Linked DNA regions of Homo sapiens: region 1 is linked to region 2. Evidence: promoter capture Hi-C in 16 types of primary human blood cells and fetal thymus (Javierre and others, 2016). All regions are on one chromosome and are shown on one strand. Each heading gives the region's core, a stretch centred on a gene start or on the middle of the fragment in contact. The rest is flanking DNA. Distances are from core to core; before and after follow the strand shown.

Region 1 (3,049 bases), core at 489-2,988, 350 kb after region 2:
CTTGTCCAGCCCAGAAAGGGGCTCCCACAGTGCAGCGACGGGCTGAAGGGCTCCTCAAACGCGGCCAGAGTGGGCGCCAAGGCCGAGGAGGTGCCGAGAGGGAGCGAGGGCTGTGAGGGCTGCCAGCACGCTGTCACCTCTCATTTTTGTGTCTGTATACTAACATATATATAGAAAAAAATATTCGGCCCGGTGCGGTGGCTCACGCCTGTAATCCCGGAACTTTGGGAGGCCAAGGTGGGCGGATCACGAGGTCAGGAGATCAAGACCATCCTGGCTAACACGGTGAAACCCGGTCTCTACTAAAAATACAAAAAATTAGCTGGGCATGGTGGTGGGCGCCTGTAGTCCCAGCTACTCGGGAGGCTGAGGCAGGAGACTGGCATGAACCCGGGAGGCGGAGCTTGCAGTGAGCAGAGATGGAGCCACTGCACTCCAGCCTGGGTGGCACAGTGAGACTCCGTCTCAAAAAAAAAACCACGTCTCTAAAAAAGAAATAAGGCCGGACGTGGTGGCTCATGCCTGTAATCCTAGCACTTTGGGAGACCTAGGTGGGCAGATCGCTTGAGCTCAGGAGTTCAAGACCAGTCTGGGCAACATGGTAAAACCCTGTCTCTAAAAAAAAATGCAAATATACAAAAATTAGCTGGGCATGGTGGTGCATGCCTGTAGTCCCTCCCAGCTACTTAGGGAGCTGAAGCAGGAGGATCACTTTTACCTGGGAGGTCGAGGCTACAGTGAGCTGAGATGGTGCCACTGCACTCCAGTGAGACCCTGTCTCAAAAAAAAATTTGTTTTAATAAAATAAAAAATAACAATTAGCCATGCATGGTGGCACTGCACCTATAGTCTCAGCTACTTGGGAGGTGGAGGAAGGAGGATCGCTTGAGCTCAGAAGTTCAAGGCTGCAGCAAGCTATGATCAAGGCTGCAGCAAGCTATGATCACCCCACTGCAACTCCAGCCTGGGTGACAGATACTCTGTCTCTTGGAGAAGGAAAAAAAGCTAAAATAATGATCCCCAACAAAAATTGTTCTTAAATTTCATTTTCGGGGCCGGGCACGGTGGCTCACGCCTGTAATCCCAGCACTTTGGGAGGTCGAGGCAGGAGGATCACTTGAGGTCAGGAGTTCAAGGCCAGCCTGGCCAACATGGTAAAACCCCATCTCTACTGAAAATACAAAAATTAGCTGGGCATGGTGGCGGGCACCTGTAATCCCAGCTACTCGGGAGGCTGAGGCAGGAAAATGGCTTGAACCCGGGACGTGGAGGTTGCAGTGAGCCGAGACTGCATCATTGCACTCCAGCCTGGGCAACAAGACCCAAACTCCGTCTCAAAACTGAAATGAGATGAAATGAAATAATGAAATGAAATGAAATGAAATGAAATGAAATGAAATACCTATAGGGAATCTTTCTGTCCATCAAACCAGACAGACCGAATTAACTCTTCTGAGTCGCAGCTTAGAATATTTGACCTGCCTAGGAGCTGGGCACAAGCCGGCAGCTAACCGCCACGTGGGCCTGGGTAGGAGGTGAGATCAGGAAGATCCCTGGGCCCCTACTAGTTCCCTGCCTGGCCTCCTCCCCCACTCGTGTGGGGGTCTACGGAGCCAGCGCTGGGGGTGGAAGGGCGAGGAGTCCTCGACGCTGCAGCGGCGGTTCCGGCCCATGGGGGCGCTCTCCTGCTTGGGGGCGGAAAAGCCGTGGCGCCCCCTTGCGTGGCGCGTCGGTCTCAGAGTCGCGTGACTTCAACCCCCTCTTCGGGAGGCTGGGTCGTCATGATCCGGACCCCATTGTCGGCCTCTGCCCATCGCCTGCTCCTCCCAGGCTCCCGCGGCCGACCCCCGCGCAACATGCAGCCCACGGGCCGCGAGGGTTCCCGCGCGCTCAGCCGGCGGTATCTGCGGCGTCTGCTGCTCCTGCTACTGCTGCTGCTGCTGCGGCAGCCCGTAACCCGCGCGGAGACCACGCCGGGCGCCCCCAGAGCCCTCTCCACGCTGGGCTCCCCCAGCCTCTTCACCACGCCGGGTGTCCCCAGCGCCCTCACTACCCCAGGCCTCACTACGCCAGGCACCCCCAAAACCCTGGACCTTCGGGGTCGCGCGCAGGCCCTGATGCGGAGTTTCCCACTCGTGGACGGGTATGTAGGTGCAGCGTTTGGGCAACGCGGGGTGAGCACACCCTTGGGCAGGAGAGGAGGTTCTGAGCATGCTATCAAGGAGGCTATCAAGGAGGCTCCCTCACACCACCCCTGGATGCCCTCTCTCCTCCATCACCCATGGGTGCCCTTCCCCGCATTACTCCATTCCTGGTGGAATCTAACCCCCTCCCTCCAACCCAACCTCAGGAGGTCTCTATATGGTCTGTGTGAGGAGGTGCCTGGTGGGGTGGAGGAGGGTAGACCCAAGCACCTGATATATCCTGACTGATCTGGAGGCGGTGTTTCCATCTGACCTTCACACCCCCAGCCACAATGACCTGCCCCAGGTCCTGAGACAGCGTTACAAGAATGTGCTTCAGGATGTTAACCTGCGAAATTTCAGCCATGGTCAGACCAGCCTGGACAGGCTTAGAGACGGCCTCGTGGGTGCCCAGGTACCACAGGGACACACAGGGTGCCACAGCATGGCTGCTGGGGGATGTTGGGGTCACAGAAACCTGGGTCAGCCAGCCTCTGGGTGACTAAATACAATGGGGCATGCAGTGTGCCATCATGTGGTTTCTAAGGAGAGTGGGGCCTTGGAGGCCAAGACAGGCTAGCTGCATGTATGCCCAGGTTCTGTGGAAACACGCAGAAAATGACCAGAAAATCCCTGGTGAGTGTGGGGTCTGCCGTAACCACAAAGGACATAGTGGATTGGCCTTGGGGCATTCACATAGCACATGGACTAACAGCAGTTTTTTGCTTGTTTGTTTGTTTGCATTTTTGAGACAGTGTCTCCTTCTGTCGCCCAGGCTGGAGTACAGTGGCACGATCTCGGTTCACTGCAACCTCCGCCTCCCGGGTTCAAGCAATTCTCCCTGCCTCAGCCTCCTGAGTAGCTGG
Region 2 (3,002 bases), core at 260-2,759:
TAGCACTTTGGGAGGCTGAGGCAGGCGGATCACCTGAGGTCAGGGGTTCAAGACCAGCCTGGCCAACATGGTGAAACCCCGTCTCTGCTAAAAATACAAAAAGCAGCCAGGTGTGGTGGCAGGCACCTGTAATCACCGCTACTTGGGAGGCTGAGGCAGGAGAATCACTTGTACCCAGGAGGTGGAGGATGCAGTGAGCCAAGATTGCACCACTGCAATGCAGCCTGGGTGACACAGTGAGATTCCGTCTCAAAAAAAAAATATGTGTGTGTGTGTGTGTGTGTGTACATATACATATTCTGGAAACCTTAAGAGACAATGCTATACAGGAAAATTGTTCATGTTGTATGCAGAAGCAGAATGTCAGAACTACTCTCGCCATTCTCCTGCCTCAGCCTCTCCAGTAGCTGGGACTACAGGTGCCCACCACCATGCCTGGCTAATTTTTTGTATTTTTAGTAGAGATAGAGTTTCACCGTGTTAGCCAGGATGGGTGAACCCAGGAGGCAGAGCTTGCAGTGAGGCAAGATAGCGCCACTGCACTCCAGCCTGGGCGACAGAGTGAGACTCTCTCTCAAAAAAATAAATAAATAAAAGAACTAAGTACTTTCTGCCTGATGAAACTCAGAGTTGAGCTTTGAGCAGTGGCAGTATCGTAGCCAATGAGGTTTATCCAAGGCGTAATTATTGGTAGTTGAAACTCAAGAGTTGAGCCCCATAAGAATTCCAATTTGCTTAAAGCAAATGTAGGTTTTGTTTGCGTCTCCATTGCTGGACCTGACTAGCTCTAGTCTACTCCTTGTTGACTAGTTTTAACTAGCAGGAAAATAAACATCAAGAGAAACCAAGTCCTTACTGTCAGAGCTCCACACAGAGAGGTCCCACTTCTATGCTATGACCTGGATTTGTTCCAGGTAACTGGAATAACCCTTTTCCTCTCTCACACAAGAGCAAGCAAAGCTTTCAACACAGGGTGTGTAAATCTCACCTGGACCTACAGTCACCTCGGTGGAATGCTTGTTGATAACCTTAATCTTATCACTAAAGCCATTTTTCTCCACAATCTTCACAGCAGCATCAGCCATAGGCTTGAAAACCTAGAAAATAGAGCCGAAACCCAAGGAAAAATGAGCAATAAATTAAACAGTAGTCTGACCTTTAAGGTGAGCAAGCTATTCCTTGATTCTGGTCCTAAGATATGTAACTTAAATACTTTATTCTCCAAATGTGCATCATGAAAAAGGGCTGAGATTCAGCTGGCTTTAACTTGTGATTAGGGACTCTCATTCCGTGCCAGGCACAGCGGGGATGCCGGGGATCCTGAGGAGGCTGCACTACTTAGTAAGAGCAGTAGGTGTCAGTACCGCACAAGAGGACGCCAAAAAGCCAGGAAAGGGACTTGCCTCACGAACCTGGGAGGCGTGCTGTGCCCTCCAGAGGAGAGCAGACTGTAGGTGTGAGTAAGTAGGTCATCCTCTGGGCTCAAAATTGTCCCAAATCCCCACTGTTGGCAGAACACAGCCTCTATTTTCTTATGGTGCAGCAGTGCCTCTTGTCCATGGGGGATACATTTTAAGACCCTTGGTGGATGCTTGAAACCTCAGACAGTACTGACCCTTATGTATACCATTTTTTTTTTTTTTTTTTTTTTGCTATACATACATACTGTTCCATGGTGGGCAGCTCTATGCAAACCTACCCCAACAGGCCACGGGAGCTGAGAGGCTGAGGAAAGACTGGCAAATCCAGCTTCTCAGAAAGACACACTTTATAGAGACATACAAACAGAAGCCTTGTCTCGGGCAGTGAGAAACTGGGCCCCCACACTGTTATGGCTCAGACGCAGGGCTTACATACCACAGGGAATTTGACGAAGGGCAGGATTTACGGTAAGTATGTATTTATGATAACATCAAAGTTGTTCTGACCTGAGGGCAGGATTTACATCAAAGTGCATGAGAGCGGAAATTTTAGAGGCATTCCTGAAGCTGGGGTTGGTCAGAAGTCAGCGTGGAGGATTAGCATTCACAGTGGAGCTGCTTCAGCCTCCAAGCTTACCTATGACCAGGTTTAATTTATAAATTAGGCACAATAATAAATATAAATAATAATTTATAAATTAACAATAACTAAAAATAGAACAATTATGTAATAATACTCAGAATGGTACACAACTTACAACTTATAAATAATTTCTGGAATTTTCCATTTAATTTTTCTTTTTTTTTTTTTTGAGAAGGGTCTCACTCTATTGTCCAGGCTGGAGTCCAGTGGCATGATCACTGCAGCTTCCACCTCCCAGGCTCAAGCAATTTCCCACCTCAATCTCCCAAGTAGCTGGGACTACAGGCGTAGATCACCATGCCCAGCTACTTTTTGTAGAGGCGGGGTTTTGCCATGTTGCCCAGGCTGGTCTCCAACTCTGGGACTCAAGGTTTCCACCTGTCTCAGCCACCCAAAGTGCTGGGATTACAGGCGTGAGCCACCGCACCTGGCTCCATTTAGTATTTTTGGACCTCAGTTGACCACAGGTAACTGAAATCACGAAAAGTGAAACCATAGATAAGGGGAAACTACTGCTTTGGAGGCCCTCCCTTACCTTCCCAGTCTTCCTCCCCCATTCCCCCAACAACCAACACTCCAGCCACAATGATCTCATGATCACTGAGCCTTCCCTATCCTGGCCCCACCTGCCAAATCAAACCCCACTTCCCAGGGCAGCATGAATCCCCCATCCAGAAGTCTTCCCTGAACTCTTCGAGTTTCCCTGAACATAAATAAGCACCTCCAACTCTTTGTTTTCAACTTATCCAGTCTAGATTCCACAGCCCCAAGAGCTCTAGCATGTAAAACAAACAGACTCACGTGTGGCCCTACACACGAAGTGGAAACCACAAAATGATACCGAGACTGTTCCTGATAAGATTTTCCTTTTTTCTAAATCCTTTTCTGTATTTCCCACATTTTCTACCATGAATACTATATTTTTTACTATAATCAAG

The links. The method cuts DNA at HindIII sites, captures the fragments that hold promoters and counts their contacts. A CHiCAGO score of 5 or more calls a contact.
Region 1: a contact is called between the fragment with the promoter of DPEP3 here and a fragment that was not itself captured in region 2, in 1 of 17 cell types (fetal thymus). The highest score is 5.1, in fetal thymus.

What each region holds. Positions count from the first base shown.
Region 1 is chr16:67,979,188-67,982,236 of GRCh38, reverse strand. It overlaps DPEP3 (dipeptidase 3), which reads left to right and starts at 1,738. Exons shown (of 10, transcript NM_001370198.1): 1 at 1,738-2,143; 2 at 2,472-2,598. The coding sequence starts at 1,857. RefSeq lists an enhancer at 1,914-2,414. The HindIII fragment of the contact is 6,110 bases long and covers 1-3,049 here.
Region 2 is chr16:68,327,161-68,330,162 of GRCh38, reverse strand. PRMT7 (protein arginine methyltransferase 7) reads right to left here. Exons shown (of 19, transcript NM_019023.5): 6 at 989-1,097. It also overlaps the pseudogene RNU4-30P. Among named protein-coding and RNA genes, the nearest start is that of PRMT7, 18 kb to the right of the region's middle. The HindIII fragment of the contact is 1,093 bases long and covers 963-2,055 here.